4 separate regions of the Homo sapiens genome follow, and regions 1, 2 and 4 are each linked to region 3. The links are contacts of gene promoters, found by promoter capture Hi-C in blood cells and fetal thymus (Javierre and others, 2016). All regions are on one chromosome and are shown on one strand. The core of a region is centred on a gene start or on the middle of the fragment in contact, and the rest is flanking DNA. Distances in the headings are between cores, read along the strand shown.

Region 1 (2,777 bases), core at 148-2,647, 820 kb before region 3:
AACGCAGATGTCTTTTCCTGCTTTTTTCAGAGCATTAGTGTTTTTGTCCTGTCTCTGCCCTTGAAATAACCACAGCTGGTGTGGCATGTGGTCTATTGTATTGACACAGGCAAGGCATCATTATTGCTTCCAAGGAACTTGGCTATTTGCCCTGTTGAGGAGGCCCTAACTTTGCTTGATGCTGCTAGCATTCTCCTGAGGACTGACTTGTTTATTTCCTTGTTTACACAGTTCATTCTCATGCTTGGGTTGCAGAGTCATTTTGCCATTGTGTGTAGTAATCTCATAATCCCATGGCAAGCTCACTCATGGCAACCTTGGCAACCTTCTGTGTCATCCACCATGGAACACATGAAAACTTCCGGATCTTTTCTGTGCCATGTGGGCATCAAGGAAGACAGGGATATTATTTCAATCACTCTGTTGTTAAATCCCAAGGAAGACTAGGGATATTATCTCAGTCACTCTGTGCAATACTACTATTTCTGTTTTCTTACAGCTTACCCTATGTTGGTTGAGAGTGCTACCCTGTGAGGTCTTTTCCCAGAGTTCCAAACAAAAGCAAGGCACAAGCATAAGTTTTTTGGTCTCTCCTTCCAAGTTCTCTGCAGCCAGAGTTTCCCTTGGGACTTTCTTTTAGTCTTGTTCGACCAGTTCTTGATAATCAAGTGTGTATTTGTTTTTTGCTCCTCTTCTGTCAATAAAGCTAGCCTTTGTGGCTATTTTGTATATATTGAAAATCCTTTTAGATGTCAAAAGCTGAACGCCAACTTTATGTTTTTTACATTTCTGTTATGACAGTTGTAGTTTTTTCTCTTTTTATTATATGCTTCTGTCTGATTAAGGTAGAGGTCACATAAAAGAAGCATATAAGAGACAGAAATGCGTTAATATTTTTATAAAATATTTTCATTCTTAAATAGTAGATGTTTATATTAATATGTAGACATTAATTATTAATATTTTTTGCCATTATTTTCTAGAGAGCTGCTTTTGCACATTTTCCTGAACTCTATGATTTTGCCCTCTCAAATGTGGCAGAAGTAGATACTCGGGAGTCCTTGGTCAAGTTTTTTGGACCTCTTAGGTAAGACAACATGAAAAACTATATATTCTTTTTTTGTATCATGCTCCCTCAATTTTACTTTTCTTTATTGCTTTTAATCATTTTGCAGTACTTTAGATAATATTACTTGTTATTTCACTCTTCGTTGACGTCTACAACTAGTGCTTCTCTCCAGCAGTTTGGTGTCTTTGTCACTTACCCACGTTTGGTAAAGTTTCTGTTTTTTATGACGTATACAATTTTCTTCGATCTGAAATTTTTCTCAGAGTAGAATATAAAGCTGGTCAATCTCATCAGTCATAAACGACATATGACAAAAACCAATAAAGATTCATTATGTGTGATATTAGAGGTGTGACTTAGGGAAATTTTTGCATGTTTAAAATTTATAAAATTAGTAATATCCTCTGGCAGTTAGCTATCTGCTAATATATCCTTTTGAAAATAGTAATAATAATGGCATACATTTATTTACTATGTGATAGACGTTCTGTTAAGTGTGTAAACAACTCTGAAAACATTCATGCTAGAAGTAGGTACCATTTTACGTATAAGGTATCTGGGGCATAGAATAGTTAAGTAATTTGCCTAGGTTACACAGCAAGTAAGTGGCAGAGATACAATTTAAACCCGGATAGTGTGATTTCCAAGCCCTAACTTTTAACTACTATACTGTATCATCTCCCAGCTCTTGGGATAAATTATGTTTAGTTCCTTGACTATTTAAAATGTAATAAACTGAGGTTGGTTTGGTTGTTCATTCTCATATGAGGATTTAATATAATTAATAACACATAGATTCATTTCATTATTTTAAATAACTACATAGAGTTCCATTAAACAGGACCAGCATACTATTTTTTTATTTTTTTATTTATTTTTATTTTATTTTATTTTTTTGAGACGGAGTCTCGCTCTTTCGCCCAGGCCAGACTGCAGTGGCTCACTGCAAGTTCCGCCTCCCGGGTTCACGCCATTCTCCTGCCTCAGCCTCCTGAGTAGCTGGGACTACAGGCGCCCGCCACCACGCCCGTCTAATTTTTTGTATTTTTAGTAGAGACGGGGTTTCACCGTGTTAGCCAAGATGGTCTCGATCTCTGACCTCGTGATCTGCCCGCCTCAGCCTCTCAAAGTGCCGGGATTACAGGCATGAGCCACCGCGCCCGGCCTTATTTTTTTAAAAGTTAATCTCCTATTGGTGAGTCTTTTTTTTTGTTTTTTTTGAGACGGAGTCTTGCTCTATTGCCCAGGCTGGAGTGCAGTGGTGCGATCTCGGCTCACTGCAACCTCTGCCTCCTGGGTTCAAGTGATTCTCCTGCGTCAGCCTCCCGAATAGCTGGGACTACAGGCACACGCCACCATGCCCAGCTAATTTTTAGTAGCAAAGATGGGGTTTCACCATGTTGGCCAGGCTGGTCTCAAACTCCTGACCTCAGGTGATCCTGCCTCGGCCTCCCAAAGAGCTGGGATTAGAGGCATGAGCCACCGCTCCTGGCCTCCTTTTGGTGAATCTTTAATTTTTAAGTTTTGGCTTTTACAAACAGTTCTGCAATGAGCATCCTTTTCGTACTGATTCCTAGAAGCAGAATGGCTGATTCAAACGGGGCATGCGTTTAAAACTTGTTACATATTGCTAAATTTCCTTCAGAAAAGACTATCAATTTACACTTAAACTAACAGCGTATGAGGATTTATTTTTCTCCCTACTAAT
Region 2 (2,920 bases), core at 139-2,638, 780 kb before region 3:
TGGTGATGTAGTTGACTTTCCCTCCTCCTAGACCAGTAACACCCTTGCAGATCAATACTGTTCCATGGAGTATACTCTAAGTAGCTTTTTCTTTTTTTTTTTTGAGACGGAGTCTTGCTTTGTCGCCCAGGCTGGAGTGCAGTGGCGCCATCTCTGCTCACTGCAAGCTCCGCCTCCCAGGTTCACGCCATTCTCTTGCCTCGGCCTCCCAAGTAGCTGGGACTACAGGTGCCCGCCACCATGCCCGGCTAATTTTTTTGTATTTTTAGTAGAGACAGGGTTTCACCATGTTAGCCATGATGGTCTCGATCTCCTAACCTCATGATCTGTCCGCCTCAGCCTCCCCGAAGTGTTGGGATTACAGGCGTGAACCACCGTGACCCACCTACTTTAAGTAGCTTTTGTGTAAAGTAACCCAAGAACTACCACCAATAGTTAAATAGAAGCCATATCTTCTAGTTTTTTTTCCTCTTCTTTGCTATTATGATTTTCTTGAATTTTGCTGATTGTTTCCTTCAAAGTCTCTTTATTACAGTTTTGTCATTTTGCCTAATTGAAATGTCTAGGTATGGAAGAGTTAATTATGTTCTGGCTCGAAGAATAGAACTTTTAGAAGAAGTCAAACGATTGCAAAAGAGTCTAGGGGTTCCAGGAGATGCCTCATATACCTGTGAAACTGCAGGCTATTTCTTCTTATACCAGGTAAGATATTAAGGGTTTTTGAATCATACTTCATCATAATATGAACCCCAGTTGGAAGCTGGAATGAGTTCTTGTGATCCTTCATGAAAGCTTATTTTTTTGAGTAGATTAGAATGTATGGTATTGCAAGTGCTATATTTATGAATGTTAAGTGTATTTTGTATTATCTTCAGTTTTCTTTTCTAAATAACTTTGCTTGATGACTCATTCTGTGAAAGACCAATGTTGCTACTTTTTACATTTTTTTCTTTCTATTGGCAAAGTTCTAGTCACTCTTTTTTCTTTTTTTACTGTAGAAATACAACTAAATAAATATTCTAGCTAGCCAGTGGCAACAAAGTACAGTTAACTTTTATTGTATACATTAATCAACTAATGAAGGAAAACATTCTTCCTTCAAATTTCCAGAAATAAATTATGTCTTACAACTAATTGCACAGTGGGTCTTGAAGTTAAAGGCTTCTGACTTCAACATAAAGATGTACTTTTACTTTTGTTAGGGTAAATTTTGGAAGTGTGAAAACCAATGAGAAATAGCCAAATAAAGTGAATAAAACTAAACTTTAATAGTCAGTTGGATTATTAATAATTTTAAATGGACTAGGACATAATTGGCTAATGAAGATTTTTGTATAACTTCATTTGTTCTCTTTGTTCTAATGCCAATTGTATATTTTAGATATAAATTATAATATTGTAAGCTCATTGTAAGTGGATATCACAAACCAATTAAGTCCATTCAAAATGAGCAGCTTTCATGGTTTCTTGTGAAGCAGGGAAAATACATAATATAGTCTACATTAGATTCAAGACTGTTTAGGACTTGCATAAAGGAGTAAAGATCAGCTTAAATGCTTTTTTGACACAAAATTACTTGGCTTTCAGTGAAAATAATGTTTAAAAGTGGGAAAAATAACCTATAAATTAAGAAGGTTTATGTAATAAATTTGGGAAGAATGAACTTGAGGCTTCACAGTGTAAATTGGCAGTTTTCAACATTTAAGAATCATATCAGGAAAGTTGTTTACGAGTTAAATTCCCTAGCCCTTGTTCCTATAGCTTCTCATTCAATAGAGGTGGAATCCAGGAATCCACATTTTTATTTAGCTCCTCAGATATTTTGCATAAGGACTACACTTTTGAGAAACACTGAGATAGTAACAGAAAAAGACCTGGGAGAGTTACAGAAATTGAGGTTACATAGTAACTGGCTGGTAGACGCATAGCTAACATTATACAAAGTAATTGAACTATAATCACAAAAGTCATAAGATAAGCTTTCAAATACACACTCAGCTTAACCAGACGTTCTTTATAAATGTTCTAAAAAACTGACAGAGGGTTGACAAGTGCCAAATTGATTAAAAAGCTGCTAAAGCTGAACTTACCATATATGGAGAGAAACAGAGATGAAAAAAATGAGCAATTTCTTTGTCCAGAGAGCTTTCTTTCCTTTACATTTCTTTTAAGCGTTAATAATAAACTCTCTTGAGTTACGTGGAGAATCTGAACTGTCGGAGTTAGAGTTCTATGAGATGATGTTAAGGCTCTTTCCAGTTTGTAGAAATTTGTTATTAAAGAGCCTTTTTTTCTCCAAAGACAAGGTTACTTTTATAACAGAAGAGCAATCTGTCAGTTACAGGAATGAAGAATAGTTATATTGGATCAAAGATTGAATTTCTTTTTTTTTCTTTTTCACCTAGCAGATCTTGTTTTTATAAGATTTATTCATTTTATGCTTTAAAACATCATAATTAGCTGGCAGTTAACTTCAAGTCCTTTTTTCTACAGGTAATGTCTCGCTGGGAAGAGTATATCAGCAAAGTGAAAAATAAAGGTAGTACATTGCCAGATGTTACGGAAGTCTCCACTTTCTTCCCTTTCCATGAATACTTTGCAAATGCTCCTCAACCCATTTTTAAAGGAAGATCTTATGAAGAAGACATGGAAATTGCTGAAGGATGTTTCAGGCATATTAAGAAAATCTTTACGCAGCTTGAGGTAAGGATTCTCAAGTTCTTTGAACTTCCCTTTAGTGGTTTTTAATTTAGTTTAGTTTTTTTTTGAAGTAAATGTGAAATATTCAAATCTTTTGTTTTTTTGTTTTTTTGTTTTTTTTTGAGACGGAGTCTTGCCCTGTTGCCCAGGCTGGAGTGCAGTGGCATGATCTTGGCTCACTGCAACCTCCACCTCCCAGGTTCAGGCGATTCTCCTGCCT
Region 3 (3,106 bases), core at 166-2,665:
CTGCAATGTTTCTGTTTGGAGTATATACAGTGGAAAATTTATTTACAAGAAAGTCGAACACAGGTTTGATCTTCTGCAATGAAATCTGGGCCTTTGATTGACCAGCAGATATAGAAGAATTGTTGACAAAATGCAGGCACCGAAACAAAAGTAAAAATCTTTCACCAGTCATAATTTGCCTGAGATAAGGTGTATCCAAAAGAGGCCTTGTTGACCAAAACATCTCCAGCTCAGGTTTCTGCACAATACCTTGCAGTAACATTACTGCAAAAAAGACTTTGAGCTCGTCATTGTCAGTGTCTTTCCATTTATCCATTCGCGAAAATCCTTTCGGACCCGGTGGCTTTGAAGCCAACAAGGCAGCTTGGGCATTTGTTTCTCTAGTAATTTTTGAAACTAATTCCTCAGTAAAGAACAGTTCAAAATACTGCAATGGGTCAGTGATATCACTGACATCGACTTTTCTGCCAGGTGTGCCGGTAAAGTCATACCTTTGACGTGGAATCATAGCACGAGCTGACCATTTCATGGAGCGCCCTGAGTCACTTGATGTAGAGCTCTTTCCATCAGATTCTAAATGGGACAGAGGCCTGATCTTATCGGCTTCTAAAGCACTATCCGAAAAATTATCAGAATCATCTATTTCCGAAAAATCAGATTCATCAAATGAATCTTCAGCCAACAACTGTTCGAGACCGGTATTACTATCACGCATAGGAATGCTACGTTTTCTAGGATTTGACATTTCAGCGATCGAGAATTACTATATTTTGTAGATGGAAATCCCACTACTAAAAACAGAATGCTATAAACAGAATGATGTCTTTTGTTTCAAAAGTCAATATACCAGAACCATGCGAAAATAACAGAAGCGAGATATTTCGTGGCAAACTTTGGGAGTAAGGTTGGCACTGTAATCCACGAGTTATCTCGGCGTAAACGCTGCAGTCGCAGGCACAGCAGCGCGTAATCTCGGGGCTAAGGAGAAATGAGTTAAACGCACACAGACAGAAGAAGCCTTTCATCTCATACGTCTTGGGGAGTCTCTAGAAGTTTTTTGAAAGGTCTCTTCTGGATGGTGTTTCTCCCGAAGCCAGTCTCGTCATCTTTTACTCCCGTGAGGTCCTTGGCCTCCGTGGCTGCCGCAGCAACACACACTTGACTTTCACTTCATGGGCAGTCCCCTTCATAGGCACTTGACACAGGCTCTGTGCGCCGTCTTCCAATCCAGAGTGCCGGGAGTTAAGGGCAGTACTTCCGCCTTACTTCCGCCTCGCTAGTCGATCGGCCATGATCTCTTCCCTCTGGTTGGATCCCACAGCTTATGACAGAAACGGGCGCGCAGTGATGACAACATCAAGCCGCCAGCGGCGGCGGTGGCGGCCGGGAGACTGGGAGGGCTTCCGGGGCTGCCGGTCTGAGTGCAGAGCTGCTGTCATGGCGGCCGCTCTGTGGGGCTTCTTTCCCGTCCTGCTGCTGCTGCTGCTATCGGGGGATGTCCAGAGCTCGGAGGTGCCCGGGGCTGCTGCTGAGGGATCGGGAGGGAGTGGGGTCGGCATAGGAGATCGCTTCAAGATTGAGGGGCGTGCAGTTGTTCCAGGGGTGAAGCCTCAGGACTGGATCTCGGCGGCCCGAGTGCTGGTAGACGGAGAAGAGCACGTCGGTTTCCTTAAGTGAGCATCCTGAGGGCAGCGGGAAAAAGGCTGGGATGGAGGCCGGACAGGGACCCCACCAGGAGAGTTAAGTGTCAGGACGGGACAACGTCGCTGTCTCAGACTGAAGGGGAGGGTGCCGCTAACGGTCTATGCCGGGAGACCTTGGGAGGCAGTCGGATGCTTTCCCTTTCCTGGTCCTGTACCTCTGGAATGAGCATGGCAGGCGCTCACCCCCTGCCATGGTCAGAGCATGGAGTCAGTTATTTCCAACCTTATTTTGGCCCCATGTGGGGACGATCATTCCTGGGCCCTGGGGACAGGTGGACCCTTATTAGTCTCTTGTTGGATTCTTTTATATCTCATCTGGTTTCCCTAGAACCTAGTCGTTTTTTGCATTCACTTCAGTCTTTTGGTAGCTTGTTATTATGTAGAAAGATGCGACACAAGTGGGAATTCTCAAAACCCAAAGGGCTTCTAGTGACGACATAGACTGGGAGGCTAATGTTACTGCTTCTAAAATTAATAGGCTCTGAAATCCCTAATCAAAGCACTTTTTTTTTCTTTTTTTTTTTGCTTGGGGGTGGGATCGTTGTTCTTTTTTACAGTTGAATTCATCGAGAGATTTGCTATATCACACTTGTCATTTATGTGAGACTAGGGTTCCTCTACATTGCTTTCTTGCTTCTGTCCTTTCATGCTATTAGTGGAAGTGGGTTTTCTGTCTATATTAAAAGACAGGATGAATTTGTTAGCACTAGTTTTGCAGCAGCCTGCTTTTGAAATGTCTAGGCACGCGTATGTTGTTTTAAATCTTTCCACCCTTACTTGGAGGTGAAACTGTAAACTGAAAGCAAATAATTAGGAAGTATTTCCTTTGGTGGGTTCGTACACCAGCAAATGGTATCTGAAAATCAGACAACTTAAATGTAGACATTTAAATCCAAATCTGATTTACATATTTGTTCAGATCATCTAAGTGCCCTTGAGTGGTTATTCAACCTCAGATTAATAAATAGTGACAAATTTACAACCAGTATTTTACTGCTGTCTGTCATTAAGAATCTGGCATTAGGGCATTCGTTAGAGTTTACCCTAATTAATGATGTTTTAATGATAAAGTTCTCATTAAGCTTTAGGAATAAGCCTTAATTGACCATTTGGCCACTCTTCTGTATACAGTTCTTTTAAAAAGCATTTAATTTCTGTTTAAAAATAGTATATTAGAAACAAAGTAGGAAAACAACCCTTAATGTTTCATTGTATCTTTCTTTTTATTTTTTTGAGACAAGGTCTTTTTCTGTTACTCAGCCTGGAGTGCAGTGGCGAGATCATAGTTCATGGCAGCTTCGAACTTCTGTACTCAAGTGATCCTCCTGTCTCAGCCTCCTCAGTAGATAGGACTACAGGCGGACACCATCATGTCCAGCTAATTTTTTAATTTTTTGTAGAGA
Region 4 (3,194 bases), core at 434-2,933, 840 kb before region 3:
GGGCGGCTGGCTGGGCAGAGGGGCTCCTCACTTCCCAGTAGGGGCGGCCGGGCAGAGACGCCCCTCACTTCCCGGACGGGGCAGCTGGCCGGGCGGGGGGCTGACCCCCCCACCTCCCTCCCTCCCGGACGGGGCGGCTGGCCGGGTGGGGGGCTGACCCCCCCACCTCCCTCCCGGACGGGCGGCTGGCCGGGCAGAGGGGCTCCTCACTTTCCAGTAGGGGCGGCCAGGCAGAGGCGCCCCTCACCTCCCGGATGGGGCGGCTGGCCGGGCTGGGGGCTGACCCCCCCCACCTCCCTCCCGGACGGGGCGGCTGGCCAGGCGGGGGGCTGACCCCCTCACCTCCCTCCCGGACGGGGCGGCTGGCCGGGCGGGGGGCTGACCCCCCCACCTCCCTCCTGGACGGGGCGGCTGGCCGGGCGGGGGGCTGACCCCCCCCACCTCCCTCCCGGACGGGGCGGCTGGCCGGGCGGGGGGCTGACCCCCCCGACCTCAAGAGGGAGTTTATATTTGTAGTTTTACATGAATAAAAAAAGTTACCAAAGTCAAGACAGATGCTTACATTATAATTTCAATGTTCTTTTGGTTTTTTGTTTTGAGACTGAATTTAGCTCTTGTTATCCAGGCTGGAGTGCAAATGGCGTGATCTCAGCTCACTGCAACATCTGCCTCCCAGGTTCCAGCAATTCTCCTGCCTCTGCCTCCCAAGAAGCTGGGATTACAGGTGCCCGCCACCATGCCCAGCTAATTGTTGTATTTTTAGTAGAGATGGGGTTTCACCATATTGGCCAGGCTGGTCTCAAACTCCTGACCTTAGATGATCCACCCGCCTCGGCCTCCCAAAGTGCTGGGATTACAGGCATGAGTCACTGTGCCTGGCCTGTTCTTTTTGTCCTTGATTTGGGATCTATTTTTCCTTTTAGAAATTTCTAATGCACTGATGTTTCCTTTTTGTGCTGGTGCAACAGAAGCTTGATCAGTAGGGATCCAAAATCTTTGTTTTCTTTGCCCGCCATATAATGGTCACTTCATCAAGAGTTTCTTCTCTTCCAGTCAGACTTTTTTAAATGAAAAAAAGGAATGGATGCCTGTCATCTGTTTTGAGTAAATGGTCACCAAAGTGAAAAGGTGATAGAGTCTTTAAGATAAAACCATGGACACTTATCTCAAATATTCATTAAATGACTACCATCTCAGGGCACATTAGAGCTCAGAATAAACTATGGGTTTTATGTCACTATCAAGAGAGCCTAGGGGTTTCTTCAAGTTGCTTCAAGCTATTATAGAAATACAGAAAGGAAGAAGGAAAATTTTTTGAGCCAGGGAATAACCTGGTCAGTTTACCTGTTATAAAGATCACTTTGGTGATTAGGCCTTGAAATAGAGAAATGATAATACAGATTTAGAGGATATACAGAGATGTAGAAGGTAGAATTGATTGAATTTGATAATCAGTTGAAGTAGCATTAGGAAAGGGTGTTATTTTCAATAACCTTCCAGGCTTGGGCAAATGAATATAATATATGATGGTGCCATTTACCAAGATAGGTAATAGAGAGTGAGGAATAATTTGGAGGATACAAAACTGTTGAATTGAATTTGGACATATTCAGTTTAAATTGCCTTTGGAATATCTAGATTAAGTCATCTAGTAGAGGAATCTAAGGTTTGAGAGCTCAGAAGAGAAATCTGGACTGCAGATGTATATTTGGAATCATTGGTATTTAGTGGTTGAAGTAATAGAGGGAGAAGAATGAGGCTAGAACCCTACGAATATTGCGGTTTAGATAACAGGCAAAAGAAGAAGAGCCTTCAATATGGTGAAAAGGAGTTGAGAGTTAATAAGGGTCCATAGGACTTGACAGCCATACAGCTTCAGGAGAGCTTGTCTTAGAGAAGTGAATGAAAACAACTAGTATAGACCACACGCTTGGAGCATTTGTCTGTGGCAGTAACTAGAAACAGAGGTAGGTCAAAGAGGCTTGAATATATTTACATTATTTACAAGTTAAGAGTAAAGAGCTAATATAAAGCAGGAGGGGCTGTTCTTGAGATTAATTACAGTGTGAAAACTACAATTTTTGCTAAAGATGTAGTTTCTTTTGTTTAAATCAGAGAAATTAAAACACTTCAGATCCTTAATAAGAAAACAAAGCCTAAGCTAAATACAGGCATAATCCACAGAGGAAAAACTAAAGAAATGAAAGCCATTATTTTATTAGCTAAAGGGTTCTGCAGCTCTCTCATAGTCCTGTCAGAAACCTGTATTTGACTTGCCATTAATTATAAGTAAGCACGTGATGCTTCTTTTATACATATACAAATAACCCTTTTGTAATTATTTGGTTTTTTTAATAGACTGCTAAAAAGCCTACTAGGGCTTCTTTAAAGCTTAAGTGAGCAAGCCAATACAAAATGAATTTTATTCTGTTTCTTTTCAGATTTTTAAGAAGAAGCCAGACCACTTCCCATTCTTTTTTAAACACATCTTGAAGGCGGCATTAGCTGAAACTGATGGTGAATTTTCACTTCATGAACAGACAGTCTTACTACTTTTTCTTGATCATTGCTTCAATAGTTTGGTACTTTTACTTTATATTTTGGGGTAATTTTCAAGTTTTCTTGTTCTTTTAGGTTGAGTTTAGATGAAATTACCTCTGTAGCCAACTCCATTCATCCATAATAGCAGGCAATAAGGATAATGCTAAAAGCTTGATTTCAGCCACTTATCAGTAAAACCATTTTATAAGTCTTTAAGATATGTTTTTATAAGATATGTTCACTTTTTAATAGATTTGAAATTGATACTTAATTTTTTCTATCTAGACTCTTAAGAAAAATGATTATAAGAACTGAAACTCTAAAGGGAGAGCACAAAAATGAGAAGCAGCAAGGAGACTGGTTATATGGAATTGGAGTAATGAGATCTGTGCCACAAACTGCATATACATACAGGAATGTAGTTTCATTGCTTTTCATCATGCCTTATGCATAGGCTGGTTAGTCAACAGGAGAGTTGTATTTTGAGTTGACTGATAAAGGCCAAGTGTAAATGATCTTTGAAAATGTCTTGTGTGTGATACATTTTCATCCTTCATAAGATTATCTTCTAAAAAATTAAATATTTTCAGTAATATTTTATTTGAGCTTTCCTGTGTGGTTAGCTGATAAATACACATATTTATTTAGTGCCT

What was found. The method cuts DNA at HindIII sites, captures the fragments that hold promoters and counts their contacts. A CHiCAGO score of 5 or more calls a contact.
Region 1: a fragment that was not itself captured here is called in contact with the fragment with the promoter of EMC7 in region 3 in 1 of 17 cell types (naive CD4 T cells); the score reaches 6.0 in naive CD4 T cells.
Region 2: a contact is called between a fragment that was not itself captured here and the fragment with the promoter of EMC7 in region 3, in 1 of 17 cell types (non-activated CD4 T cells). The highest score is 5.8, in non-activated CD4 T cells.
Region 4: a fragment that was not itself captured here is called in contact with the fragment with the promoter of EMC7 in region 3 in 3 of 17 cell types (total CD4 T cells, activated CD4 T cells and fetal thymus); the score reaches 6.2 in total CD4 T cells.

What each region holds. Positions count from the first base shown.
Region 1 is chr15:34,925,345-34,928,121 of GRCh38, reverse strand. It overlaps AQR (aquarius intron-binding spliceosomal factor), which reads left to right. Exons shown (of 35, transcript NM_014691.3): 13 at 984-1,087. Among named protein-coding and RNA genes, the nearest start is that of AQR, 43 kb to the left of the region's middle. RefSeq lists a silencer at 20-314. The HindIII fragment of the contact is 5,060 bases long and covers 1-2,777 here.
Region 2 is chr15:34,884,308-34,887,227 of GRCh38, reverse strand. It overlaps AQR (aquarius intron-binding spliceosomal factor), which reads left to right. Exons shown (of 35, transcript NM_014691.3): 25 at 567-702; 26 at 2,494-2,703. Among named protein-coding and RNA genes, the nearest start is that of AQR, 84 kb to the left of the region's middle. The HindIII fragment of the contact is 1,187 bases long and covers 795-1,981 here.
Region 3 is chr15:34,100,171-34,103,276 of GRCh38, reverse strand. It overlaps EMC7 (ER membrane protein complex subunit 7), which reads left to right and starts at 1,415. Exons shown (of 5, transcript NM_020154.3): 1 at 1,415-1,673. The coding sequence starts at 1,438. It overlaps PGBD4 (piggyBac transposable element derived 4), which reads right to left and starts at 1,194. Exons shown (of 1, transcript NM_152595.5): 1 at 1-1,194. The coding sequence starts at 745. RefSeq lists enhancers at 985-1,074, 1,105-1,804, 1,414-2,271. The HindIII fragment of the contact is 6,792 bases long and covers 1-2,787 here.
Region 4 is chr15:34,943,676-34,946,869 of GRCh38, reverse strand. It overlaps AQR (aquarius intron-binding spliceosomal factor), which reads left to right. Exons shown (of 35, transcript NM_014691.3): 6 at 2,442-2,582. Among named protein-coding and RNA genes, the nearest start is that of AQR, 24 kb to the left of the region's middle. The HindIII fragment of the contact is 1,420 bases long and covers 974-2,393 here.